Linked DNA regions of Homo sapiens: all the other regions are linked to region 1. Evidence: promoter capture Hi-C in 16 types of primary human blood cells and fetal thymus (Javierre and others, 2016). All regions are on one chromosome and are shown on one strand. Each heading gives the region's core, a stretch centred on a gene start or on the middle of the fragment in contact. The rest is flanking DNA. Distances are from core to core; before and after follow the strand shown.

Evidence for each region. The method cuts DNA at HindIII sites, captures the fragments that hold promoters and counts their contacts. A CHiCAGO score of 5 or more calls a contact.
Region 2: a contact is called between the fragment with the promoter of PEF1 here and the fragment with the promoter of TXLNA in region 1, in 16 of 17 cell types (monocytes, fetal thymus, activated CD4 T cells and 13 more). The highest score is 27.9, in monocytes.
Region 3: the fragment with the promoter of FNDC5 here is called in contact with the fragment with the promoter of TXLNA in region 1 in 3 of 17 cell types (fetal thymus, M0 macrophages and megakaryocytes); the score reaches 8.5 in fetal thymus.
Region 4: the fragment with the promoter of TINAGL1 here is called in contact with the fragment with the promoter of TXLNA in region 1 in 2 of 17 cell types (M0 macrophages and fetal thymus); the score reaches 6.0 in M0 macrophages.
Region 5: a contact is called between the fragment with the promoter of SYNC here and the fragment with the promoter of TXLNA in region 1, in 6 of 17 cell types (erythroblasts, M0 macrophages, total CD4 T cells and 3 more). The highest score is 9.1, in erythroblasts.

Annotation. Positions count from the first base shown.
Region 1 is chr1:32,177,506-32,182,987 of GRCh38, forward strand. It overlaps TXLNA (taxilin alpha), which reads left to right and starts at 2,170. Exons shown (of 11, transcript NM_175852.4): 1 at 2,170-2,271; 2 at 2,809-3,009; 3 at 3,737-4,072. The coding sequence starts at 2,841. RefSeq lists enhancers at 1,348-2,107, 2,108-2,866, 2,754-2,833, 2,954-3,113, 3,124-3,173 and silencers at 2,044-2,233, 2,374-2,553. The HindIII fragment of the contact is 3,390 bases long and covers 1-2,720 here.
Region 2 is chr1:31,641,418-31,647,232 of GRCh38, forward strand. It overlaps PEF1 (penta-EF-hand domain containing 1), which reads right to left and starts at 3,459. Exons shown (of 5, transcript NM_012392.4): 1 at 3,424-3,459. The coding sequence starts at 3,447. PEF1-AS1 (PEF1 and COL16A1 antisense RNA 1) reads left to right here and starts at 2,719. Exons shown (of 6, transcript NR_184313.1): 1 at 2,719-2,879; 2 at 3,295-3,429. RefSeq lists enhancers at 3,189-3,959, 3,279-3,348, 3,589-3,928. The HindIII fragment of the contact is 8,144 bases long and covers 1-5,815 here.
Region 3 is chr1:32,867,101-32,872,736 of GRCh38, forward strand. It overlaps FNDC5 (fibronectin type III domain containing 5), which reads right to left and starts at 3,812. Exons shown (of 6, transcript NM_001441683.1): 1 at 3,553-3,812; 2 at 1,782-1,897; 3 at 1,090-1,288; 4 at 653-742. The coding sequence starts at 3,790. RefSeq lists enhancers at 650-1,151, 5,580-5,636. The HindIII fragment of the contact is 9,260 bases long and covers 1-5,636 here.
Region 4 is chr1:31,573,861-31,579,402 of GRCh38, forward strand. TINAGL1 (tubulointerstitial nephritis antigen like 1) reads left to right here and starts at 2,655. Exons shown (of 12, transcript NM_022164.3): 1 at 2,655-2,735; 2 at 3,274-3,598; 3 at 5,344-5,407. The coding sequence starts at 3,289. LOC105378626 (a long non-coding RNA gene) reads right to left here and starts at 4,037. Exons shown (of 6, transcript NR_188671.1): 1 at 3,984-4,037; 2 at 1,550-1,810. RefSeq lists an enhancer at 2,466-3,186. The HindIII fragment of the contact is 15,245 bases long and covers 1-5,542 here.
Region 5 is chr1:32,699,385-32,704,786 of GRCh38, forward strand. It overlaps SYNC (syncoilin, intermediate filament protein), which reads right to left and starts at 3,386. Exons shown (of 5, transcript NM_030786.3): 1 at 3,224-3,386. The coding sequence starts at 3,276. RefSeq lists enhancers at 2,854-3,619, 3,620-4,385 and silencers at 3,746-3,795, 3,846-3,935. The HindIII fragment of the contact is 11,042 bases long and covers 1-5,402 here.

The DNA.
Region 1 (5,482 bases), core at 920-3,419:
GCACTGTGGCTCATGCCTGTAATCCCAACCCTTTGGGAGGCCAAGGTAGGAGGATCACTTGAGGCCAGGAGTTCAAGACCAGCCTGGGCAGCAAAGTGAGATCTGTCTCTACAAAAAAATTTAAAAGTTAGCTGGCTGTGGTGGCACATACCTGTAATCCTAGCTACTTGGGAGGCTGGGGCAAGGGGATCACTTGAGTCCAGGTGGTCGAGTCTGCAGTGAGCTATTATGATCACTGCACTCCAGCCCCAGCAGCTGAGTAAAACCTGTCTAAAAAACAAAAATACAATCTGGCCCTACCCGGCCTGAGTTTCTGCTTGCTAACAATGTGCAAGAGCTGCTGTATTTTACTGCAATCACCACCTCTCCCTCACTCTGGCAGGTGCTAATATTGTTGCTATATATTGTTTATAGCAAAGGAGAAAGTAACTTGTTAACCTATGTTTCTGTCAATTATTCTTGCCTGTTCTCATTACCCAACTGGCCCCTCTAGGCTATTGTTGACCCTTCTACTACATCCTCTATCCCTCACCCCATGCATACATTTTTATGTTCTTTATCTCACCTAGAACACCCTTGTTATATGGAAATCTATCAAGGCCTGATTTATATGGTGCCTTCTCAAGAGATTTCCAGAATGCTTTTCTAGAAATAATCAGGGCCTTGGTTTCAGGACATCTAGATTCCAACCTTTCTGAGCCTCAGTTCCATCATTATACTAAAAATTGAATATCTCTTATCCAACATGCTTGGGACCAGAAGTGTTTCCAATTTGGGATTTTCTCAAATTTTACCGGTTGAGCTTCCCCAATCTGAAAATCTGAAATCCAACATGCACGGCTCTGAAGTCTTTCACTGAGCCTTTGGGGGAAATATTTAACATCCTAACAGCCCTAAACCAACGCTCAATTAGCACAACAGTTTACAATCTTCTCTACCCACAGCCTGATGCGAGGCTCTGGGACTAGACTATTTAGCCAACAGTTCTTGCAAAATTAACTGACTTATAAGTAAATAGTAATTTCAACACCTCACTGCTAATGCTGTAACAACTCTGCAGACCTAGGGAGCAAGTACGGTTTGCAGAGCACTGGGAAGGCTCTGAAGTGACCTTTGAACTGGGCCTCAAAAAATTTTGGGTTTGGCAAAAGTCAAATCTCTTAGGCTTCAAATTCCAGGCACAAGGATTGTTGGGTTTGATTTCATTATCCAGAAGCAATGGGGATACAGAATTGTGATCTCATGTGTAGGGAACTGTGGGGGTTTTTTCTACTTTAACCCCAGTGAGACTTTGTAGAGTGTGGGGTAGAGAAAAGGCTCATGAATATGCCTGAAGCCTAACTCAGCACCTTTCTGAGGAACTGACTGCCAAAATGGTAATGGAGAGGGGAAAATATGACCTACTTTCACAAGTTACCTTGACTGCCTCAGGGAAACCTGCTGTGGTAGTGTTTCTTCTGGGTGAAAGACCAGGTAATTACCTGGGTGCTGGTCTCAGACTTACCAGTTTTGAATCCCTGTTTTAACCACTCACTATCGATATGACCTTGGATAAGTTACCTAACCTTTCTCTTACTGTCCTTTTCCGTAAAATGGGGATAACAGATAGTAGTTATTTCTATGAGTGGTTATGAGAACCAAGCTATTAGATAGCGGGAAAGCACACAGTAAGCGTTCAAGGAACTGCTATTGTTATTAAAAGCCTCCTTTGGAAGAAGGACATTGAGGCCCAGAGAGAGAACAGAACGTCCAGCCACACAGCAAATCCGTGATGAAGTTGGGACTGGAGTATGGGTCTCCTGAGTCTCAGCCCAGGACTCTATCCCTCTTCCCGAGTCCTCGGAGTTCCCGGATGGAGTCACATTTGTTCACGGCCAGGGAGGAAGGTTTGATGGAGGCCTGCAGGAAACAACAGCCAGGCGCAAGGCTTTGGGAGTTGAAGCATAGCTTCTGCGAGATAGAAACAAGGTTGACATGGGCACTCGTGCAGAATGACGGGCTCCTTTTGGACTCCCAGGACTACAGTCCCTTATGCACCTTGGGATCTGCGGCTAGCCCCTGCGTAAAGAGGGACGCGTAGTCTTTTCCCTGCCCCGCCCTGCCGGGGCGCCCGCCTCCGAGGCCGCCCTCGCTTCGTCCTTCCCAGCAAGCTCCGCGCCGGCGCCGGCTATTGATTGGCTGAGGCGGGAGCAGGCGGCTGGCCGGCAGCAGTTACTCGGGGTTTCCGGTGCGAGGCCAGAGGTGGGGAAGCCATCGGACGTCGGCGGTGAGGTACGTGCAGCGGCGGCCGGTGGGCGAGACTATTTGAGAGTGTGCGGGCCGGGATGTTCTCGGCCTGTGGGGAAATCACGCCAACTCCCCGCGTGGGCCGGGGGCTGTCTGGGGATATGCGCATGCGCGGGCGTGCCTCGCGGCTTGAGGGCGCGCGGGGCGTGGGTGGCTGCGCGCGCGGGGGGCGCACGTGGGGCCTGAGGGGCGGGGGCGGTGCCGGGAGTCCCGCCACGTCAGTCTCCGGCCCTGAGCCAATCCCGCGCCCGGCCTGCCGCGAGGGGGCCGGTTGTGCCGGGAAGTGGCTCCAGGGAGAAGAGGCCTCTTCCCTCACCCGCTGTGGGAGCTGCGCCCCGAAAGCCTGCCCCGGCACGTCGGGCTCTCCTGACCCGCCAAGACCAGAGAGCCGTTGGCGCCCTCCGCCCGGGCCTGCCGGTCCGTTTATTTTAAGAAGCTTTGTGCGCCTGCTGTGGGGATTTCTGATCCAGGCTGCGAAGAATTTCGAAGTCTGGAAAATAGCAACTGTGTTTGTTTCTAAAGGATCTTCTCCTGACCCAGCATCGCTCATCACAATGAAGAACCAAGACAAAAAGAACGGGGCTGCCAAACAATCCAATCCAAAAAGCAGCCCAGGACAACCGGAAGCAGGACCCGAGGGAGCCCAGGAGCGGCCCAGCCAGGCGGCTCCTGCAGTAGAAGCAGAAGGTCCCGGCAGCAGCCAGGCTCCTCGGAAGCCGGAGGGTGTGTGCCAGCTCTGCGTTGCCAGCGGGCAGGGGGAGGAGCTGTGGGGTCGGCCTCGCTTCTGGACTTACAGGCCGAGGCCAGGTTGTCCGGGAGGAGGAGATGTAGAATGAGAGGACAGTGCTGGGGGCCGCGGTCCCCCCTGCGCTCTGGCGAGTTGGCGGAGCTGCCCCCTCTAAGCACAGGAACAGAGTTCTGGAGAGAAGCTCCGACGGGATTAAGTCAGGTGGCAGCCAAACGAGGCACCCAGTCAGGAAATCCAGGTCCCGTTAGAAACACCTCAGCCACCAGCAGCTAACTGCCCTTCCTGTTTGAGGCATTTCTAGAATGATCTGAATGGCAAGAAATGGTTTTGTGGGGGGGAAGGAGATGGACTAGAAGTTGCTCCGTGCCATCCCTGTGTGCTGATGCTTTACATACTTTTATGATCTAACAAATATGTTCGGGTGGTAGTGAGAAATAGTTGTGTCATTTTACAAGTAAACAGACTTAAAGAAGTTAGGCAACGATTACTATAATTTCTTGATTTAAAAGATGTTTCGAATCTAAATTCTGACAGGAACTAGATTTGCTGAATGATACTCCATTCTTGCTTCTCAGTTTCCATAAAAAAAAAAGTTAGGCAACATTTAACTCAAACTGATGAGTTTGGCTGGGCCTGAAAAATCCCAACCAGTGGTATAATCGTCTTCTTTCTCACTCTACCCCTCATCCTCTCCTGCTGTAGGGGCTCAAGCCAGAACGGCTCAGTCTGGGGCCCTTCGTGATGTCTCTGAGGAGCTGAGCCGCCAACTGGAAGACATACTGAGCACATACTGTGTGGACAATAACCAGGGGGGCCCCGGCGAGGATGGGGCACAGGGTGAGCCGGCTGAACCCGAAGATGCAGAGAAGTCCCGGACCTATGTGGCAAGGAATGGGGAGCCTGAACCAACTCCAGTAGTCAATGGAGAGAAGGAACCCTCCAAGGGGGATCCAAACACAGAAGAGATCCGGCAGAGTGACGAGGTCGGAGACCGAGACCATCGAAGGCCACAGGAGAAGAAAAAAGCCAAGGGTTTGGGTGAGCAGAGGGCGGCTCTTTGTGAAGCTGGTGAGGAGAGGGAGTTTGGACTTGACGTTCTCTGGGCCAGTCTGTTCTGCCAGGATTCAAAGGAAAACGGTACTTCTCAGAGCAGCAAGTCACTCTAGTCTAATCAAAGCCAGGGATGTGGGGGCCACGGCATAGAGAGATGCAGGAGTTACCAGCACAAAGCCTTCTGGGTTTTGGAGCAACTGGAGCTTGGCATGGGACCTGTTCTCTCTTTGAGAAAATGGAGACGGGAGGCTAGGGTAGGCTCCTGTGCCAGCCAGTACTACCTGCTGTGTGACCTTGGGTGTGTCCCTTCTCCTCTCTGGGTCTTAGTTTATATTTCTCTTTACAGTAAGAAAATTAGACTAGGCCAGAGTTGAAAACCCAAATATCTGCATAAGCTGGGCTGGCCATGGGGCCACCTGAAGATGGAGGCTTTACTGCTTCCTGATTAGTTGCTCTCAGCTAGCCAACTGAGAGCAGGCAAAACTACAGGCTGGGTGCAGTCAGGCTTTTTTTTTTTTTTTTTTTTTTTAAATAAAGAAAAGCCAGAAATCTAGAGTTATGTGAGAACTCTAGATTTTTTCATAGTTAGCAGCTAAAATGGTAAGAGCCAAACAAAACCCATCCGTGGGTTGGATTTGGCACACATGCCTGCGAATTGCAGTCTCCATGCTGATCTCTTGGGCCCTTCTGGGGAGGCAGAGGGAAGGCTCCCTGACTCAGTCACAGGCAATGGGGAATAGGCAGTGACAGTCATTTTACAGCAGGGTATGTATGTTTAAGAGTCTAGGCCGGGTGTGGTGGCTCACGCCTGTAATTGCAGCACTTTGGGAGGCCGAGGCGGGTGGATCACCTGAGGGTCAGGAGTTCGAGAACAGCCTGGCCAACATGATGAAATCCCGTCTCTACTAAAAATACAAAAATTAGCTGGACATGCTGGCACACGCCTGTAATCCCAGCTACTTGGGAGGCTGAGGCAGGAGAATGGCTTGAACCCGGGAGGCAGAGGTTGCAGTGAACTGAGATTGTGCCACTACATCCAGCCTGGGTGACAAGAGTGAAACTCTGTCTCAAAAAAAAAAAAAAAGAATCTAGAATCTAAGTCGAGTGTCATTATATCCATGTTTTATTCCTATTCCCTTTTCCCCTTATGTATCCTCTTACTTTAAAGAGGAACTTTAAAAAATCTTAGGGACGACTAGGCAGAGTGGCTCACACCTGTAACTCCAGCACTTTGGGAGGCCAAGGCAGGCAGATTATGAGGTCAGGAGTTCGAGACCAGCCTGGCCAACATGGTGAAACCCCAGTTCTACTAAAGATACAAAAAATCAGCCGGGCGTGGTGGCACGTGCCTATAATCCCAGATACTCGGGAGGCTGAGGCAGGAGAATCACTTGA
Region 2 (5,815 bases), core at 2,209-4,708, 530 kb before region 1:
AACACTTCACTGGCTCCCTCACTACTCTTAGGATGAAGTCACACTCCCCAAAAAGGCATACAAGGCCCTTTGGGATCTGGCCCTTGCTTACCTTTCTAGTCTTATTTCCTACCCCTTTCCCCCACATCACTACAACTACACTGAACTTCTTAAAGTTCCTCCAAAATACTAGGCTGTCTTACCTGCTTCATGGGCTTTGTGCAGCTATTTCCTCTGCTGGAATAGCATTCCTTTCTTCACTCAGCTAATTTCTACCAGTGATTCAGTTGTTGGCTTAAATATCACCTCTTTTAAAAATGCACCCCTAGACTGAGTTAGGTATCTCACTCTCCCGTGCTGTACCTTACACTTACTCCCATTGAATACTTATCACATTGCCTCTTCAATCTGCATAACTGCATTACTCCTCCACTTGGAGTATTCTACATGCCCAACACCATACCTAGCACTTTACGTGGATTTTCTCATTTAATCTTTAGAGTAATTCTGAGGTAGATACTATTATGACCCCATTCTAAAGAAGGGAAAACTAGTCCAGGCGTGGTGGCTCACGCCTGTAATCCCAACACTGTGGGAGGCTGAGGCAGGTGGATCACCTGAGGTTAGGAGTTTGAGACCAGCCTGGCCAACATGGCGAAACCCCGTCTCTACTAAAAATACAAAAAATTAGCCAGGTGTGGTGGCGTGCGCCTGTAATTCCAGCTACTTGGGAGGCTGAGGCAGGAGAACTGCTTGAACCCGGGAGACGGAGGTTGCAGTGAGCCAAGATTGTGCCATTGCACTCCAGCCTGGGCGACAGAGCAAGACTCTGTCTTAAAAATAAACAAATAAATAAAAAATTTTTTTCAAAAAAGGGAAAACTGAGTCTCAGACTTTTGCAACAAACTTCTGCAAGGGAGTGACAAAGCAGGGATTTGAAATCAACTCTCTCTGGCCTCAAAAACTAAGCTCTTAAGCACTGAAATCCACCAAGCTCGTTCCCCCATAGGACCAAAGGGTGCTTGAATTTTACTACTCCAATACCCAGTCCCTGCTTGGGTACCCTGGACTGGAAGCAGTGGAAAATTACAGGAATTCTGACTCCTAACAATAGGCTGGAATCCTCCAAAGCTATGTAGTGGGTGGAGGGGAGGCAGCACTGACTGAGATGCTTTAAAACAACTCGTTTCCTTTCTTAGAACACCTGAGACCAGGAGGCGGACAAGGGTATGGTAGGAAAAAAAAACAACATTTCTTTTTCTATTCCAGACTCTTCTCTCTGTGCTCCTTTTCAGTATTTCACTCCAGGAATAGCCCAGGCAGCATGGCATCATGAGAGCAGTCACGGCAGCAAGAGCTGCCACCAGACACTGGCATGTACTAGGCACTAGCAACACGCCAGGCTCCCTGCATTTTAACCTCATTTTAGCCCTTTTCACAGGTATTATTTCTCCCTTTATACAGGTGAGGAAGCTGAGGCTCAGAGCCCTTAGTTTGTCCAGGGGTATATAACTATTAAGTAATACAGCTAGAATTCTAGCACAGTTCTCTCTAACCTGTCACTGCTTTTAGGATGCACACCAATTGTCCCTAATGCTTATTAGCATGTAGATTCCTGGGTACAGAACAGGTCTGAAGTGGGACCCAAAAGTGTGCTTTCTTAAACAAGCTCTCAGCTGATTCTGAGGCAGAAGACCAGCCACTGGGAAACAAGGCGCTATGAATGTTTTTTCAGCCTGTGTTCCTCAGAAATACTAGAGTCAAAAAAGTGACCAGACATCTGAAAAGAAAGCCGGGAGGCGGAGTTTCTATGGTTAGATATGTTTAAGAAATACTGCATATTATATTCCTTTCTGGATGATTTACAATGTACATTAGCAAATTAAGGATTCTGAAATAGCTTGTGGTCAATAAACTTATTCAGCTATACTTAAGAGTATTTCCAAAACTTTAGTTAACTACAGAATCCTCCTATATTAACAATATCTATTAAAACCTCCCAAGACTCAGCAAATGGAATGGACTTTAGGAAGCAACTGCTATGCTACACTTCCTAACTCCAGCCCGCACTGGCCTCTCTCTTTCCTACCTCTCTCTAAGGATGCAATAAGAGAAGTCCTAAGCTCTGGTCATGGCCTCACCCTCACTTACTACGTGTGACTTTTGGGAAGCCACTTAACCTCTTTGGGTTTGCTCCTCAGCAGTTAATTAGGGGTAATAATACCTGCATGCCGATAGGGACTTCATGATTAGGATAATGGAGGTCCAAACACTGTGTAACCCGCACAAGACTGCACTCCCTGGAAGGACTGTTACATCTTTTGGCCTGTGACTAAACTCAGTTGAGCACTGTGTAATATACCAATTGATCTTGTTTTCCCACATTTCGTTTATGGATTTCATCTCCTAAATAACTGTGTGATCGCAGCCCTCTGTGGGCTTCATTTCCTCCTCTGTAAAATGAGGGCTCTATTTTGAGGACCCTCCGGGCACTGGCCTTTTAGAAGTCTACTAAAAATCAAAATGCTAAAGGGCAACACATGTTACACCTCACTATGTACCAAACGCTTCGTAAGCATCACCTCCTGACTCTCCACAACAGCTTTATGAGGCAGATCCTATTATTCGGCCCTATTTTACAGGCGGAAACTTGGACTCAGAAAGGCAAAACAGCTTGCTCAAGGGCTCACAACTATTTAGGTGGTAGAGCTAAGATATGAACCTACCTCTGACACCAAAGTGCACTTCAACACCCTACTATCACCCAACAAAGAATTCTGGCCACAGAATCACCTTGCTGCGGTATTCCTGACTGAATCAAGATACGCTGGGGAAGAGGCATCTGAAGATAGCCCGGGTTCTGACCTCGGCCCTGCTGCCTAACTGCCTGGTGACTTCAGGTAAGTTCTGTGTCTTCTCGGGGTTCACTTTTCTACACGCGAAATGGCGGTGTTGAACTAAGTCAGTGGTCAAACCAGCTCACTTGTGGCGCCTGCTACAACCAGAGTTTCCTGATGACTCTGATGCAGTGTGGGGTGGGTCCGGAAGCCTGGATTTTTATCCGACGCCCCAAATGAGATCGGCGGAACCAGAACTCTAAACCTCCGGTCATGGCTGATGCCCCCGCCCAAGGCCCCCATGAGGGCCTTGGGAGGCTGTGGAGCCCAGGCCAGCGCCAGCCTGGACCTGTGGGGTCCAAGGTCCCCAAATCCTCGAGTGAGCGACGTCAAGGGGGCGCGACACGACCTCGCGAATGTGCGGTCCTTCATGACGTGAGCAGGGCGCGACCGACGGTCCCTTTTCGGTTCTCTACAGCGCAAGGCCTCGCTGAAGCGAACCCATCGTGGGAAGGGCGCGGAGAAAGCGGGGAGAAAGAGCAGGGGGACGTCGGGCCTGCGCCTGGCACCGCCGCTACCTGGATTCGCGGGCCCCTCACACACTCACCTGCCGGTAAGGATAGCTGGCCATGGTGATTCTGACGTCACACTCAGGCAAGGGGTGGGGCTTTCCGCTCTCAAACCCGCCCCTCGTCTCGGCTTTGGGGCTGGGCCCGCATCTGATTGGACGTCCGCGCCTGTCAATCTTGGGTGCTGTCGGCCGACGGAAGTGACGATGGGGGCGGTGGGCGGATGCCTACCCGAGAGACCAGGGGAGCTAAGTGATTGATGGAGCTTCCGGAAGTCTTGGCGGCTGTACCAGCGCTAATGTTCCTCCTTTTCCTGAGGTGGAGTGGGCCGAAGAGGTGGTCAGGTTGGGAAATTTAGTGAGAAGCCTGGGTGGGGTGTTGCTGCGGTAGCCATGTTATAACCTGGCAAATGGGACGCATGATAGTGACGTAATTGCTGGAGTAGCTCCTGAGTTTCCGCAGATGAGCCGCGGGAAAGGAGACGAGGGGCGGTGGCCAGGCGGTTGCCCTGACAACGGGGAACCGACCGACTCTTCCCGGTAGGGAGAGGCGATGGCGGAATTACTCCTCTAATGTCAAGGTACTGGGTACCAGTTAGTACCCTTGTAGTGGGATACAGATCTGTGGTCTTTGGAGAAAAAAACCCCAGATCATTAGAGTTGGAGGAAAATTGAATTATCTAGTGCCTCTTTCTTCATAAATGGGGAAACTGAGGTGCAGAGAGGCAGTTGCCTTGCCCTAGCTCACAGTGGGTCGCCTAGAACCGGGGTCAATGGATGTCCAGTTCTCAGCAGGGAGGTCTAGGTCGGTCCCCATCGTAGGTCAAATCCTGGTGACCGAGTGATCTCAGCACCATGTACTTGCCACTCAGTGGTTCCGTTTCTACACTTATTTGTGTGCTTATTTGATTTCTTTGTCAAGTTCTTTCATGTGGGCTAGGGTTTTGTCTGTTTTTGCTTGTCATTATAACTCCAGTACCTAGTATAGCGACTGACACGATTATTAAAATAAATGAATAAATGAATGTTACGAACTGTTATCCAGTCTAGTCCATCTATCTAACCAAGTGCACTTTCCAAAATCACAGTGCTGATCATGCCACTTGCCCACTACACAGCCTACAATGGATGCTCTTCATCCACGCCTACAAAATAAGGCCCAATCTCTTCATTCTGGTACTCCAGGCCCTTCAGAATCTGGCCCAGCCTCAACTTTCCAATCTTACGGCCCCTTCTGCTACTCTGTATTTCTGTGCTCAGTTCCACCATTCAGCACTTCTGCTTTGGAGGGAGGATCTTTGTTTTATCACTTTCTAACTGTATCACCTTAGGCAGGTTTTTTGTTTGTTTGTTTTTAATTTCCAACTTTTAAGATCAGGGGTATATGAGCAGGATGTGGTTTGTTACATAGGTAAATGTGTGCCATGGTGGTTTGTCGCACACATCATCCCATCACCCAAGTGTTAAGCCCAGCATCCATTAGCTATTCTTCCTGATGCTCTCCCTCTTCCCACCTCCCTCTACGCTCCGACAGACCCCAGTGGTGTATGTGCTCTCCTCATTCAGCTCCCACTTATAAGTGGTAACATGCGGTGTTTGGTTTTCTGTTTCTCTGTTAGTTTGCTGAGGATAATGGCTTCCAATTCCATCCACGTCCCTGCAAAGGACATGATCTTGTTCCTTTTTTATGGCTGCATAGTATTCCACAGTGTATATCTACCACATTTTATTTAGGCAAGTTATTTAACCTCTCTAAATTTCACTTTTCTTAGCTGACAGGAACAAATGTGTAAATTTGAAAATGAGCTTATTATACCTGCTCATGCCCCAAACTTAGGTTCAAACCACTCCTTTCACCTGGACCAGCAGCCCTCCCAACTCCAGTCCTGCAAGGCTCAGTTCCAATTCCATTCTCCACCTAACCCTCCCACATTCCCCTTAGCTCCAGAGTTAGCCACTCTCTCTTGCCACTCCCCCTTTGCACTTGGTACTGTCACTGTGTGGTATTCCAGCCTGCCTTGTATAAGAGTTTTCTTTTGGTGTTTTCCCCAAAACCCATTCCTCTCCATCTCAGAAAATCCACCCAGTCTCTCAGGCCAAAAACCTAAGATCATTCCTGTGTGTCCTTTTTTTCTCCACACACTCCCTCACCTCCCTCATCTCCATTTGCTCTAATTCAAACATGTACACATCTGCTCTTTTCTCCCTGTTCGCACTATCACTGTAGTCCAAGACACTATCATCCGTGCCTGGATCACTACAATAGCCGACTGACCAATGTTCCTGCTCTCACTCTTCTCCCCACGCTTCATTTTCTCCACAGGCAGCCAGAGTGGTTATCTTATTCCTTGGCTTCAACTCCCTGGGGACTTCCCATCACTCTTATAATAAAAGCTAAACTCATCCTAATGACATTCATGGCCACACATAC
Region 3 (5,636 bases), core at 2,562-5,061, 690 kb after region 1:
AAACAAACAAAAAAAAACTTGGTCTTCATTCTCAGGGAGCTCACAGACCACAGGTAAAGGAGAGACATGAGCCGAACGAACTAACACAAGGGCTAAAGAGAGGGTTAAAGAAGGGCTAAAGAGAGGAGTGAACAGTATGCGGTGGGGGTGTGGAAGCAGGAGGGCCATTCTAATGGATGGATTGAGGGAGTTTTCACGGTGGCTGTCTCACAGCCATGGTGGCTGGGTCTAGAAGGGTGAGTAGGTTAGGAGAATGTCCCCAGGCCAGGCAGTGACTTCCCCTGAGCTTCCCAGGCCTGGACCCCTGGAGGCACAGCACCCCAGAAGAAAAAAAGGCTGTGGCCATGACCAGAGGTAAAAGGCCTGTGGAAGTGTCCAGCCCCAAGAAGCTGAACCTCTTCTGAGGGAGGGCGAAGGCAAGTACTCATCTAATCCTATAAGGCAGCTAACAATATGCTGGTTTTTTGGTGAAGAGTGAGGTAGAGAAGGGGTCAGATCTGTTTCCCAGAACTGTCGTTGGCAGGACTTGGAGACTTTTCACCTTAGAGATGTCCAAACCCCTTACCCTTTTTTTCATGAGAGAAGGGGCTGGTCAGAGTCCTCCATTTCCCAGAATCTGAGGGAAGAAGAAGGTCTCGGAGGCCAGACTCACCTGCCCACATGAACAGGACCACGACGATGATCAGCACCTCGCCTGTCCGCAGCTGTTGGTTCCTCCCCATCTCTTTCATGGTTACCTCATCTGCAGGGAGAGAGACACTAGATCCAGCACTCCTTTCCTCCCTCAGCCACTCCTCTAGGGCCAAGCCCAAGACAACAGTGCTGATTTCTACAGGTGCCCACACATCTAACATACATTCTAGAATGCACTGATGGCTACTTGGGGTGGCAGTGATAGGACCAAGTCTAAAGGGAGTTTATATGCTCAGCGTCTTGTCAGGGACTAGCGTGAACCCTCTCTCAGGTACTGCTTTACTTGCCAGCAGGGGATAAGGGGGAGGAGACAGAGCTTTCCTCAAGCCACCCACTGGTCTGGTCCTGACCACCCCTCACCCCACCCCATTCCTCTTAACAGTGACCCGGGCCTGCCTTTGTTCTTGGAGGCCATCTTCTCAGCCTCACGCGGGGTCTTGAAGAGCACAGGCTCGCTGGCTGGGCTCTGGCCCTGAATGGAGATGGCCTGCACGTGGACTATGTACTCCGTATCCTCCTCCAGGTCCCAGAGGGCACATGAGCGGGTGGTGGTGTTCACCTCCTGGATGAAGCGCAGCATCCGCACATCCTTCTTCTGCAGACAAGCGCCGGTCACTGCTGTCAACACTCGGTGACCAGCCCCGCTCCTGCCCACCTCCCAGTGGTGACAAAGCCTTTACATACACAATCTTCATCATTCCATCACCTCCGCTATCAATATCTCCATTTTACAGGGAAGGAAACAGGTTCAGAGAGGTTGGGGAAGTTGCCCAAGGCCACACATCTAGTAAGCACTGGAGCTAGGTCCTAAATGCAGATGTCTCTGAGATCAAAACCTTAATTTCTGTGTTCCACTTGAAAGTTCCCAAACCCTCCCTCACTGACTGATTCTCTTCTAGAGAATTTTCAGACATATGTCTGAATGGGGCCCCAATTTTCAGACATATGTCCAAATTGCTGTTCATCTCCCTTGCCCCAAGTTCCTATTTCCTTTCTATTTCTCCATCACCACCACTGCCACACTCCTACCCCCATCTGCCACTACTGTCTTGATGTGTCCTTCCCTCCTAAGGACAGTGGAGCATTACCTGCTGGGAGATGGCAAATCCGATGACAACCTCATCCTCCAGAACATCCCAGCTCACCACTGCAGAGTTGGCCTTGAGGTGCCTGACGGTGACGTTCACTGGGGCTGAGGGACTGTCTGGGGGACGGGGAGGCACCTAAGCCTGAGCATCCCCTATTGTGAGGCCCAGACCCACTGTCTCATAAGTAAGAAGGGGAAACCTGGGGAAGGCCATGCAGGAGGGGAAGGAAGAAACTAAGGCCTCAAGTGGGGTCCAGTGACATGGCTCTCAGCTCTTCAGTGGGTTGAAGAACCAAGCCCAAGAGGCCCCAGGCTCCTCATGACTGGGACGGAAGCCCCTGCTGGCCACAGGCCGGCCCCATGAGGGGTCCAAGGCTCAAAGTGATGGGCCTGGGCCGGGGCCCTATCTAAGGGATGGGTGGTTAGAGTTGTGGAGAGAGTTATGTAGGGGACATAGGTGGACAGAAACTGAAGGTTAGCTGATGAAAAGCAGACAAAAGGACTCCCCAGTCCAGTGCTCTTTTGACAATACTGCCCTGTCCAATGAGTGACCTTGCGCGAAGGAGAAAGACCCAGAGATCGAGAAGTGTCAGGCTGGGGTGAGCCCTGGACTGGGAGTGAGGAGAACAGAAGTATCCTCAGAGCTGTGGTGGCCCAGGCAGAATAAAGCCTGCGGAAGAGTCTGTGTGAGCCTCTTATCCATGCTCTTCCAGCCCCAAGATGCAGGTGGGGAGGTGGCAGGGGAAGATGGGGTCACTCAGAGCAGGGCCCCTCCATGGCGAGTGGAGAGGAGAGAACAGGTAGGGGAAGAGGATGAATGAGGAATCACTCCAGAAGAGACAGGAGGGAAGTGGGGGTGAGAGTGATAGGGATAGTGGGGGTCAGTGAGGAAAACCGTCCAGGAGAGGGGCAGTGCAGTCACATAAGGCTCAGTATCTTCCAAGGGGCAGGTGCAGCACGGGGCAGAGCTGCGCCTGAGCAGCACCCCTCACCCCACAGAGAGTGAACTTGAGACCCAGGGGGCTGGGCCTGGGACCTGAGGGAGACAGAGCCAGACATGGAGGGGGAGGTGGAGAGACAGGACACAGACAGGTGGTGGCAGACACAGAACCAGAGGACAGAGAAGTGGGGCATCTGAGAAAGACAGCTGCGAGAGAGCGCTCCCCGAGCCACGGAGGGAGAGATGAGCCGGGCAGCGGCAGCCAGGAGGGACAAAGACAGAGTGGCAGGAGAGGCTGGGCAAGGACGGGCCGGCCCCATGGGGCAGGCCAGACACTGTACCAGATCAGGGGTGCCGGGGCCCACCCCACGCCCTGCGCCCTCAGGTGCCAGCCCCCATCCCCTTCACACGTGCTCCTGCACAGCGGGACCCCATCTGCCCCTGCAGAGTTGGCTTGCAGGGCTTTGAGAGGTCCTGGGGACACAGAGAGAGGCCCAGGTGGGGGAACTGGTGTCCTCAGCTGCTCCCTGGGTCAAAGAAGGGAGCTAGGGAAGCTGAGGCAAAGACCTGGGGTTAGGGGAATGGGATTAGGGGACTGGGGACCACAAGACCCTAGGAAACCCAGGGCTGAGGTGACAGGGGAGATTTGGAAACTGAAGGACAGGTCTGGGGGTCAAGGAGGTAGGAAGACGCTGGGGGCTGGGTTAGGGGAGCAGTGTTTGGGCCGAGACAGGAGTCCCTAGGGGGCAGAGAAAGGACCAGGGGACTCCCAGGTAGCTGGGCTCGAGAGGAGCCTGCCCCGGCGCCGGCCCCCCGCCCCGGGCCCCCTTACCCGCCTGCACCAGCGCGAAGCAGACGCAGCCCAGCCACAGGCGGAGCGCGGCGCGGGCGCGGGGCGGCCAGGCGCTCGGCGACCCGGGGTGTATGGTGGCTCCTCCGGCCGGCAGGCCCGGGGCGGCGCAGGGGGACGCGGCTCCGGCGCCCGGCGGCCGCTCGCGCTCGCGCTCCGGCCCCCGGCCCGGCCGGCCCGGCCGCTCCGGCCGCCCTGCGCCGCCCCGAGCCGCCTGCATGTCGGCTCCGCGGACAGCGACTCCCGCGCGGCGGCGGTGGCGGCGGCCGCGTCCACGTCGGGCGCCCGGGGGGCGGGGCGCCCCCGCTGCGGGGAGAGGTGCGGGGGCGGGGTGAGGACCGGAGGGCGCCCCCACTCCCGCCCCCGCTGCCTATTAGGTCCTCTGCCGGGGAGGAAGGGGCTTCGCGGACCCACGGCTCCCGCCCTCTCACCGAGCGGGAGCCCAGCGGGGTTCTCCGCGCCCCCGCCGCGGTCACTCTCTCTCCCGTGCACAGCCCTGACTTGGCTGCCGCTTTCTGCCCTTTCCCAGGGTAGAGAGAGGACAAGTGCCACCGAGATGCCCGTTTGTGCCCCCACCCCTAAGCGCGCCTCCCTTCCCTGGGCCTAGGGATCCCCTCATTCCACGGTAGACCCGAGGCCTTGCGGCTGGGGCAGACGGGAGCAGAGGGGAGAGATCACAGTAAGGCTGGGGTGAGCAGAGAGTGCTAAGTGGACACTAGGGCTCCGTGTTTCCAGTGGGGTTGGGAAGAGGCTGCTCTGTCTCACTGGAGAGTCCAGCTCTGTGACCCCAGGCCAGTCCTTTTCCTTCATTTTCATCCCCATAGTGAGGGCAGTAATGAGCGTCTACCAGGGGCCAGATACTATGCTGAGCTTTCTTTGCATTATGTGGCTTAATTCTCAGGGCAACCCTGTAAAGTCATACTCTGCACACTTTGCACAGGAGGAGCCTGCAGCTTGGACAGGCTACTTGACTTGTCCAGGGACCCGCAGCAGAGCCAGGATTTGAACACAGGCTGATCTGACTCCCAAAGCTGTGCTTAACTGAACTGTCTCCCCACCCAGAGTGACTTCACCCATCCGGAGATTCGTGAGACTCTAGAATTGGCCGGGGCCAGCTCCTCCCCAGCCAGAAAACAGTCTGCAGCAATCTCTAAGAGCATCTCTGAGAAGGGGAGTGGCTCCAGCCCCCTTCCCTCATCTCAGCCAGAGAAACAAGGTGGAGGAGAGAGGCATGGACCAGGGCTCAGGGCCTTTTGTCTCAGCAAGAACCCCTGAGCCCCCTCCCACGACTATCCGAAATTCCACTACTAGCGGGGCATTCCTTTGGGTCTTAAAGGTTTTCCAGAAGCCCTGGAAGGGCTAATTTTCTTTGGAAAGGAGACGTCTTGCAAAGTTCTGCCACAGAAACGTCTTCAGGGTCTTCCTCTCCATCCCCCTGGTTTTACATTAAGGAAGTGAGGTCTACCGATGGGAAGAGCTTGGTGCAGATTCACACAGTGGGTCAAGAGGAGCGATAGACAACCCTCCTCTCCTTATGCCCACCCAGGACTCCTTCGCTGGCCCTGTGTTCCTCCTTGGTCACCTTGGAAGGGGTGAGATGGAAGCGAGCTTAGGGGCTCTTGTTGAGCAGCAGAATTTTCCTGCCCATCCCCTCAGTGCCCCCAGACCTGCCCCACTCGGCAGGGTGACACTGCCCAGCCCTATCATTTCCCCCGCCACATACCTTGTCCTGGGAGAGCCTCAGCTGGGACCTCGACCCGTTTGGGAGAAGAGCCCCGGAGCCAGAGCACCTCTCTCTCTCTTTTCTCTTTGCTCTCTTTCTCTTTCTCTCCCCTTATTATCTTCTCTCTCTTTCTCCCCGCAGCTGCTGCCTGCCCCACCCCACCCGGCCCCGCCCCACCAGCTGCAGCTTAGCCCCTAGGGACCCCCCACCCCCCATCCATCAGACAGGAAGACAACCAGGAGGCCCGCAGGAGCAACTGGAGCCTCTTCAGGCCTCCAGCACAGGAACCAGCAGGAAGGAGAGGGTTCAGTTAGAGGACACAGAATCTACTCCCGTCCCTGCA
Region 4 (5,542 bases), core at 1,405-3,904, 600 kb before region 1:
GCTTGCAGTGAGCTGAGATCACGCCACTGCACTCCAGCCTGGGCGACAGAGCGAGACTCCATCAAAAAAAATAATAATAAGTCAATGAGTCACTAGGAGTCACTAGGAGGCAAAGGGTCAAAGGGTCATGGAAAAGGAAAGTGGGGGTGTCCAGCACCCCCGGCCCTGCCCTTTTCCTCCTCGGCCAAGGAACCCAGTGAGTCACAAAATTCCACTGGGGCGGGCTCTGTGCCAAGCTGAGTGATGGTGGGAGGCTCTGGCTCTGCTCCCATCCCCTGCTCTGAGTCCCTGCCTCTTATGCACAGACAGGCAGGCAGACAAGGACAGGCAGATGGCCACAACTCCCACACAGATACACAGACACCTCTTAGACAGGGAGGCACAGGCAGGACACACACACAGACATACAAGCCAACAAGTGCACAAATGCAGGCAAACAACACACGCTGGCAGACAGACAGATCCATAATGGACACAGAGACAACATCCAGACAGATACACACACACAGATGCACAGGTATGTAGCAGATGGACAGGTAAATGGATAGACAAGCAGACAATCAGTCAGACAAGGACAGGCAGATAGCCAAAATATCCAGACTCACAGATACACAGGCACATAGCAGATAGACAGGTAAACACACTTCGGAAGGCCAAGGCAGGCGGATTGCTTGAGCTCAGGAGTTGGAGACCAGCCTGGGCAACATGGTGAAACCCCATCTCTACTACAAATACAAAAAAAATTCAGGCAGGCATGGCGGTGTGCACCTGTAGTCCCAGTTACTCAGGAAGCTGAGGTGGGAGGATTACTTGAGCCCAGGAGGTCAAGGCTTCAGTGAGTCGAGATCGCGCCACTGTACTCCAGCCTGGGTGACAAAGTGAGACCTTGTCTCAAAAAAAAACAAAAAACAAAAAGCAAAAAAAACCCAGACGATCAGATGTGGACTGACAGACTCAAGCAGAAGCAGAAACACCCCCACAAACACCGCAACTCAGATATACACATGCATACATGCACACAGAGATAACACACCCAGACTCACGAGGGTAGCCTATGCGGTGTGATTTTGGGCAAAAGAGAGGCCAGATGTCTCTAAACAAGCCCCCAGCCCCAGAACCATGAAAAAGTAGGTACCATAAAAGTAGGAACTCTGGACACGAACTCTTTTGAAAGAAAGCAGCTTTCATCTCTTACCCTGAGGATATGACATTTACCAATACCGAGGGGCCCGTCCTGCAGTAAGATGAATGGAGTTTAGATAAGAAAAGAGACTTCCCAACCAGGAGCACGTTGAGACCTGTAGTGGGTGACTAAGGGTGACTAGGGGTAAAGGAGTGGGCTGGTGGCAGGCAGGGAGCCTGTGTTCTGGCTGCACGACCTCAGGCAAGTGCATTCTTCTGAGCCTCAGTTTCCCACCTAGGCTTTGTCCTCCCAGGTCCCTGCAGGGAGCAGATGGGCAGCTCCTGGGTGTGTTAGTGCCAGTGCTGGGGCCCCCGGATATTATCCCTCCACCCCCACCACCAGGGCAGGACCCCCTTGGTGACTCACCACCCAGTGGTCCATGGCAGGGGTAACCCAGCCACAGGTGCCGGTGATCCTCGGCTCTCTCCCTTCCCCCAGGGTCTGGCCAGCTGAGGATGCCCCTTGGTTTGGGGGAGGTTTGCAGGGAGGTCAGTGGGAGGGCAAAGGGAGTCCCTGATGCCTTCCCCGGGGCCACATGTGAGGCTCAGGCCTGGGCCTGGGAGGGTTTGTCCAGGTGTAGTCTCTTTTATCCTCTTTGCTGGTAGAGACCTCTGGCCTGGGCCCAACCTGTTGAAGAGAGGGCGTTGCACAATAGGGAGGTAAAAGGTGACGGCAGACCTGGCGGGACAGAAGCCCCATTGTTTGGGTCCCAGGCCAGCCTGGGCAAAGAAAGGTTTATGCCTGCGGCAGGAAGGAGGGCCTCTGCAGGGGGTGCCAGCTGGTAGGGCCCTTGCCTTTGGACCCTTGGAGGGGGACAGGTGCCAAGCAGGATGCCCTTGGGTTTGCTAGAGAGGGCAGTGCTCGTCTAGGGGCCCAAGCAGGCAAGGGAAGGCAGACTCAACAAGGGATCAAAGGGTGCAGAGGCCACCCCCACACCCTGCCCACCTCCCAGGGATGAGCCGCCCAGGGCACCTAAGGATCATACTCCTGGAATTCCAATCATTCCTAGGAGCTGGGGTGGCTAGGGGGGCGGCACCCAAGCCTAGGGGGCACAGTGGAGAGGGGTGTGCATGGCTATTTTTATTACCGAGGGGTCAGGAGAGGCTTACAGAATTTTGCCTCACATGCCCTCCCCATCATTTCCCAAACTTGTGTCCATAACCCAGAGCTCGGCTGCCCATATCCCCCCTTCTCCACCAGAGCCCCTCAGCTCCACAGGGATGCCCACTGTGAAGTCCTTCCCAGTGTGAAACCGCAATCCTTCCTGCTTGGGGTTCCCCTAAGGGAACGGCTTCCGCCACAGGAGACCCAGCCAGGACAATCGTGTGCTTGTCGTTTCTCCACCCTGCAAGCCCATGAGTTGTGGGGTAGTTACTCCAGGTACAAGCCAGGCGCCCCTCCCTTCCGCCACTGCTGGGGCGGTGCAGAGGGCGGGCGGTACAAAAAGCGCCCCGCCCCGCGCTCCTCTCTTGACTTTGAGCGTCCGGCGGTCGCAGAGCCAGGAGGCGGAGGCGCGCGGGCCAGCCTGGGCCCCAGCCCACACCTTCACCAGGTAGGGACGCTCCCCTGCTCAGAGGGCGGAAGGTGTAGACAGAGAAGAAACAGGGGGAGGGGGCAGGTAGAGGAACCAAGACAGATGGCAGAGAGAGGGACAGTGGAGGGGGACAGAGGGACACAGGAACAGAAGAGAGGTGTACCCAAAAGACCGGGGGAGACAGGAAAGCACAAAGTCAAGGACCCAGGTCAGGGATGGAGGCTGCTGGAGGGCAGAGAGACCTAGGACAGGAGAGAAGACCTTGGGTCCACAGGATGAGTGTTGGGTGGGAGCACCAAGAATGCCACCACCCTCATTTCCTTGTCCTTGAAGGTCCCTGCCTAGGTCAGGGAGGGGCTCCGTTTCTGCCCAGTCCCCATCCCCCTATAGCCAGGGCCCACACACTGGGGCTCCTCTGCCCGTGTCCTGCCTGGGGACTCAGGAATCGGGATCTCCCTCCCTGCTGGGCCCTCTTGAACTCACAGCTCCAGGAAACTGGGAGACTCATCCCTGGTGTTCCAGGGAGTCTCTGCTGCCCACCATCTCTGCCCCCCAGGGCCCAGGAGCCACCATGTGGCGATGTCCACTGGGGCTACTGCTGTTGCTGCCGCTGGCTGGCCACTTGGCTCTGGGTGCCCAGCAGGGTCGTGGGCGCCGGGAGCTAGCACCGGGTCTGCACCTGCGGGGCATCCGGGACGCGGGAGGCCGGTACTGCCAGGAGCAGGACCTGTGCTGCCGCGGCCGTGCCGACGACTGTGCCCTGCCCTACCTGGGCGCCATCTGTTACTGTGACCTCTTCTGCAACCGCACGGTCTCCGACTGCTGCCCTGACTTCTGGGACTTCTGCCTCGGCGTGCCACCCCCTTTTCCCCCGATCCAAGGTGGGCACTAAGATGGCCAGGAGGGTGGGTCACTTTGTCCACCTCAGACTCAGCAAGGCTCAAGAGCAAAGCTGATGGATGCACTGACATTTCCAGGGGAAGCTCTGTAGAATCTGGGACTCTTCCCTGCCCCTCTGGGAACTTTACTCTCCAGCAAGACTGAAGAAGCTCCTTGGTTAGAATTCTAATTTGGCCCAGGGAAAGGGCAACCTCCCACATTTTCTCCCAATCCTGTCTCTTTTCCAGACACGGAAGGTGCTGGCCGCACCTGCTGACTCACTCTTGGGCTGATAAGGCACATATGGGTTGGTGAGGGTCATCTTAGCCATTTTTCTGCCTTTGCTGAGGATTCTAGGATCCTGTGCCCCGAGATGGCTGCTCATACCTGGGAGATGGGTCAAATCTTTTCCTGCTTTCAGCCTCACCATCATCCTTTTCCATGCACTTGCCCCTGTCCAATAGGAGAATCACTTGCGTTCCTTCCCACAGTTCCATGGGGCTTGGGCCGGCAGACTGCATACCTGAGCTGTCATCTCAAGAGTGCTGTGTTATCTTAGGACGGTTGCTTACCTTCTCTGGGCCTTGGCTTCCCCATGCTCCTCCCACTCCCCATCTCCAAGCCCTAACTTATTTAAATGGAAAAGGATCCCAGGAATGTTGTGGCTGGCATCCAAGTAAAGTAAGAGGAATCCAGGTTGGAATCATTGAAGAACTTCCCAAACAGCAGTTGGTGTGTGACCCTGCAGGATTTGTCTTCAGTTATAGTTTAATTTCAGTGAGAGCTGGTGTGTGTGTGTGTGTGTGTGTGTGTGTGTGTGATGTCTTCAGTTATAGCTTAATTTCAGTGAGAGCTGGTGTGTGTGTGTGTGTGTGTGATATCTTCAGTTATAGTTTGGCTTCAATTTCAGTGAGAGCTGGTATGTGTGTGTGTGTGTGTGTGATGCCTTCAGTTATAGTTTAATTTTAGTGACAGCTGGTGTGTGTGTGTGTGTGTGTGTGTGATGTCTTCAGTTATAGTTTAATTTCAGTGAGAGCTGGTATGTGTGTGTGTGTGTGTGATGTCTTCAGTTATAGCTTAATTTCAGTGAGAGCTGGTGTGTGTGTGTGTGTGTGTTGTCTTCAGTATAGCTTAATTTCAGTGAGAGCTGGTGTGTGTGTGTGTGATGTCTTCAGTTATAGTTTAATTTCAGTGAGAGCTGGTGTGTGTGTGTGTGTGTGTGTGTGTGATGTCTTCAGTTATAGCTTAATCTCAGTGAGAGCTGGTGTGTGTGTGTGTGTGTGATGTCTTCAGTTATAGTTTAATTTCAGTGAGAGCTGGTGTGTGTGTGTGTGATGTCTTCAGTTATAGTTTAATTTCAGTGAGAGCTGGTGTGTGTGTGTGTGATGTCTTCAGTTATAGCTTAATCTCAGTGAGAGCTGGTGTGTGTGTGTGTGTGTGTGATATCTTCAGTTATAGTTTGGCTTCAATTTCAGTGAGAGCTGGTATGTGTGTGTGTGTGTGTGTGATGCCTTCAGTTATAGTTTAATTTTAGTGACAGCTGGTGTGTGTGTGTGTGTGTGTGTGTGATGTCTTCAGTTATAGTTTAATTTCAGTGAGAGCTGGTATGTGTGTGTGTGTGTGAGACAGAGAGAGAGAAAGAGAGAGAATCTTGGAAAGGTTCAAGGTACCTGACCTCCAAGGACCTGGCCAATTAGCCCATCCTCTCTGGTTCTGGTTCCACTTCTCTTCTCTTCCCTTCCAACAGGATGTATGCATGGAGGTCGTATCTATCCAGTCTTGGGAACGTACTGGGACAACTGTAACCGTTGGTGAGTGTTTGGAGCTTAGAGGGGTCTTGCTTTGTGAGCCTGTGGCTGACAGACTTGGTTCAAATCTTATCCCTGACCCCTTTTGCAAGGGAGAAGTCTTTTCCCTTCTTTGAACCTCAGTTTCCTCATCTGCAA
Region 5 (5,402 bases), core at 2,136-4,635, 520 kb after region 1:
CTCGTGATCCACCAGGGATCATGGCCTCCCAAAGTGCTGGGATTACAGGCACGAGTCACTGCGCCTGGCCAAAAAGTGACCTTTCTATCTTAGAAAGACTACAGTCTCCATCCCCCTCTTCTGCATCCCACTATCAGGGCCCTACTCCAAGACATCCTGTCTCACTGGCACTTTTGTCCTGGTCTTCTAAAAGGACTTCCTCCTCTCCTCACCTCAATCTATTCTCTACACCACCACAGTTAACTTGCTACAACACAGAGTGAACTATTGCTCCACTTCACCAATAAATACCCAAATTGCTACGCATGGTTTCAAGGTCCTTAAAGATGTGGCCCAAACATACCTTTTTTTTTTTTTTTCTTTTTTTGAGCCAGAGTCTCGCTCTGTTGCCCAGGCTGGAGTGCAGTGGTGCAATCTCGGCTCACTGCAACCTCCGGCTCCTGGTTTCAAGCAATTCTCTACCTCAGCCTCCCGAGTAGCTGAGACTACAGGCGCCCACCACCATGCCTGGCTAATTTTTTGTATTTTTAGAAGAGACAGGGTTTCACCATCTTGGTCAGGCTGGTCTCGAACTCCTGACCTCATGATCCGCCTGCCTCGGCCTCCCAAAGTGCTGGGATTACAGGCATAAGCCACCACACCCGGCCCCAAACATACCTTTTTTAGCTTCCTCTCACATTATTCCTGCAACCCACCCAATGCTTGACATCCTAGAGCTTGCATTAACTTTTTACACCTCCTACTCTAAGCCCACGGTGTCCAGCTGAGAATTGCAGCTTCTCAAAAACCACCTAACTAGAGAACCCTGTACTACCTGGGAAGGCAGAGCTCCTAGAGCCAGGGCCAGGAAGGATGCACCTGCTCAGCCAGCCAAACTCACTCTGATATTCAACAGTCCCTGCTTTCCCAGCAGACGGCCCTTTCATCATTCTCGTGCCGAGCCGCCCACCTTGGAATGACTTCACCGTGTTCAAGATTATTCTAGGCATTTTACATGAATACTCATTTATAGAATCCTCATCATCTATTGGCTGGGTGCAGTGGCTCACGCCTGTAATCCCAGCACTTTGGGAGGCCGAGGCGGGTGGATCACCTGAGGTCAGGAGTTTGAGACCAGCCTGGCCAACATGGTGAAACTCCGTCTCTACTAAAAATACAAACGATTAGCTGGGTATGGTGGTGTGTGCCTGTAATCCTAGCTACTCAGGAGGCTGAAGCAGGAGGATTGCTTGAACCTGGGAGACAGAGGTTGCAGTGAACTGAGATTGCGCCATTGCCCTCCAGCCTGAGCAACAAGAGCAAGACTCTGTCTCAAAAAAAGAAAGAAAGAAAGAATCTTCATCTATTATCTCCATTTTATAGATGAGGAAGCCAATGCACAGAGTAAGAACTCACACAAGGTTCCACAACTGTTGTAAGTGGTGGAGGCTGGAGAAGGCCTGCAGTATTTACCACCCTCCTAGGATAGGCGTGAGGTCCAAAAGAGGTAACTACAGCACATATAAAAAGCCTGGCATGCAGCAGTCACAATATACTTTTTTTTTTTTTGAGATGGAGTTTCACTCTTGTTGCCCAGGCTGGAGTGCAATGGTGTAATCTCCGCTCACTGCAGCCTCTGCCTCCTGGGTTCAAGCAAGTCTCCTGTCTCAGCCTCCCAAGTAACTGGGATTACAGGCACACGCCACCACGCCTGGCTAATTTTTGTATTTTTAGTAGAGCCGGGTTTCACCATGTTGGCCGGGCTGGTCTTGAACTCCTGACCTCAGGTGATCCGCACACCTCGGCGTCCCAAAGTGCTGGGATTACAGGCGTGAGCCACCGCGCCGGGCCCACAATATACTTCTATCTATCTAACAAATTTCTACTCATCCTTCAAGCCCTGCTCAAACTTCATCTCTTCCGTAAAGTATCTCCCAGACAGCCCCATGTGTGTTCTCAGGGCACTCTGTATGCAGCACATCTTCACACTTATTGCTCCAGTTACAGAAGTACATGTGTCTGTCTCCCTGATAGTGAGTTTCCTAAGGACAAGCAGAGTTCTCATTCTGCTCTATATCCTAGGGTGGGGCTCTGTAAGGGCAGACAGGCAGAAACCAGATGAACTCCAAGGAGGAAATCTGCCCAAGGTCGAATGGCAAAGCTGGAAGTAAAACCCAGGCCTCCTGACCTCCAAGCTGTGCTGTTAGCACACATCGTGCTGCCTCCACCACCCCACCCATGGTGCCAGGCCTCTGCTGGGTGCTGCCCTCACACAGCCGCCTCTTTTAAACAGAGAGAGGAGGGAAAGAAGCAGATGACAGGAGGCTCAGAGGAGAGGAAGCCAGCTTAGTTGGGGCCCCTGACCTCGGGCTTCCTTGGGCCCTGGGCAGCCTGCCTCTGCCACTCTGTCCCTGTCCCCAGAGAACCGCAGAGCTCTCCAACCCTGTTCAGGGATGTGGCTGGGAGTCCATGTGACATTGTGCAGGCAAGAGTCCGTGTGTCTGACTGTAGCTGTAGGTGTGGACAGCAGTATGGGTGAGTGTGTGTGTGTAAGACCGCTCAGCTTTGTGCCCCTGTGTGACAGTGAAGGGGTGTCGGGAGCTATGTATTTGCACCCTCACCTCTTGGTACACTGGGAAGTCCCAGAGCCACAGTATGACCTGGGACAGAAATACACCTCACCCCAAACCCCTCAGCCACAGGTCCCTTCCCCCAATAATCAGCCGTGCCCTGCCAGGAGGGATAGTGGGGAGGGCCCCTGGACCCTTCCCCCACCCATCCCAGGCCAGACGGGAGAGAACAAGCCCTGACAGACTCTTAACTTCAAGCTGGCAGATGCCCAGCCTTGCACCAAGTGGCTTCCACACAGCCACTTCAGCAGGGGAGGCCTCTGTCTCCAACTGACATTTGCAGGGAGGAATGAAGGCTAGCGAGAAGTGTCTTTGGCTGCTATGGGCCAAATGGCACTTGAGCGGTGGATGCCCACTCGCCTGGAAGGGTTAATTTTCATGTAGTCCCGGGAGGGGGAGGGGTATTATAAAAAGCCACAGACAAACGGAGGTGCCAGGACCCCGGGACGGCCCGACTCCCCGATGTCCCCTCACGAGGCGGCTCCAGTGCCCCACCCCGGCTGGACCACTACCCCTAGACAGGCGAAAGACGCCCGCGGTCGGGGGGAAAGGGAACCCGTCCAGCAGCACCCCTTCCCCAGCGGGGCGGCGACGCGGGCCCGGCACTGTCCTACCTCGCGGCCTGGGCGGCGCCGTCCCCGCCGCGCCGGGGCTCCGGGCTGGCCATGGCTGCGCGACCCCGGGCTGGCGGCCGCGTTATTAATAGCCGGGCCCGCGGGCCCCTCGCTCCGGCGCCCGCGCCCGCCGCACTGCCAGCTGCAACCGACACCGGATCCCGGCCGGCCCCGGGCCGGGCGCGCCCACTTGGCCGGGGCTCCTGCCGGGGGAGGAGGGAGCGGCCGCGCGGACCTGGGGGCGGGGAGAGGCTGCCCCTCCCGGACCAGCCTGGGGCGGGGGTGGGAACGGGGGCCTGGAGCTGTCTTTCCAAACCTCCCAGCCCCCTCGTCTTCCCGAACCTTCTCTCCACCCTTCCTTTCGTGAGGTCCCGTTGCAGGGGGAGTCAGAAGGGGGGTCTGAAGCCCCAGGGAGCACCTTCCCTGTCCAGCCTGGGAGGGTGGAGGCAGGGTTGGGCGGGCTGCTCAAAGGGAGCCAGCACCCCTCTCCCGCGAGTGTTTGGGGGTGTCCGCTGCCGCTCAGCGCCCTCTGGTCCCCACCCAAGAGGGGAAGGGCCGCAGCCACCCTCTGGGCACTCCGGGCTGTCCCCGGCAGCTGTCGTGAAGGGCGGGGCAGGGCGCGGCCGGGGAGGAGGGTTCACGGCCACACCCCGCGCGTTTGGGGACAGCCTGGAGCCTGGGGGCGGGCTGGGTGGCTGGGGTTAGAGAGAACTGCGGAGGAGTTTACGCCTATCACATTGAGTCCATATTTAACCCCACTTTCTGCCCCACCCTTTGAGGCTTCCTGGGGTCTCTCTCCTGCTCCACCTGTCACCCCACTCAGCCCACTTCTGTCAACTTCAAGACATACCTCCCCCCACGTCCTCAGCCCACTAGTGTGAGGGTCAAACCAGCACTGACGTCTTTCTCCCCAAGAGAGAAGCTGCTGGGCCCCTTCCCAGACCTGGGCTTCAGGCGTTCTTCCTTCGGATTCCTTTTTCCACTTAGCTACCCTGTCTGGGGAGGTCTTTGACTCAATCGCAGAAGAATGCTGGCACCATAACAAGCCCCAGGGGCTGGGGTGCCTGGGAGGCCGGTGGGGGAAGCATGCCGTGGTGTTGAATGTGTGTGGGCTTGTGTGCCCCTGTGTGACTCTGCGGTGATTGTGGGGTACATGTCTGTGTGTGAGCATGTGGATGTGTGATTGTGTGATCTCAGGGTGAATGTGTGTGGTGATTGTGCCATGGTGGAGTGTCTTTGTGGGGCTGGCGGTTTTGACTCTGTGTGGGGGGCATGCATATGGTCCCGCTTGTGACTCTGACTGTGTGCTTGTGCGTGACTGGGGGTTGATAAATGTTCATTCATCCTCGCGTCTGAGTGTGCTGCCTGTGGCTGTATATTTATATTTCTCTGTCTAATGCAAGGGGGTGGAAGATTTAACACCCAGGGCAGCCAAATATACCCTTGTAAGGTACGCACGAGAAAAAGCCAGGTTTTGAGGCTGCTGGTCATTTTCTGACTTACCCCCGAACTATTCCAGGGGAGGAGGCTGGCGAAGCCTCAGCTGCTGGGCATTTGACATCTGCTGCCCGCCAGAGGAGAGCTAAGGCAGCAAGGGCAGGCCTGCCAGAGGCTCTGTTTGCTGTGGTACCAAGCAACAGGCGGCAAGGGTGGCATTCAGAAGAGCTGGCTCTGCCCCTCCAACCCCCAGCCCAGGACCTGGCCTTAGGCTGTCCCTAGGACTGAATTTCTGACCCGCTCCTACCCTCCTGCTCAGCGCTTCTTTAGGCTGAAACCCTGAATTCCCCAGGGTCCCAGAAACTTCCCCACCTCCAAGCCTTTGTTGTTGTTTTTTTTGTTGCTGTTGTTTCTTGCAGTCAGGGTCTCACTCTGTCATCCAGGCAGGAGTACGGTGGTGCAATCATGGTTCACGGCAGCCTCAACCTCCTGGGCTCAGGTGATCCTCCCATCTCAGCCTCCCGAGTAGCTGGAACTACAGATGCACACCACCACACCTGGATAATTTTTGTATTTTTTGTAAAGACGAGGTCTCACTGTGTTGCCTAGGCTGGTCTCAAACTCCTAGGCTCAAGCAGTCCTCCTACCTCAGCCTCCCAAAGTGCTGGGATTACAGGAGTGAGCCACCACACCCAGCCAGGCCTTTTCTGCTGCTCCCTCTGCCTAGAAAACCCTTTCCAGC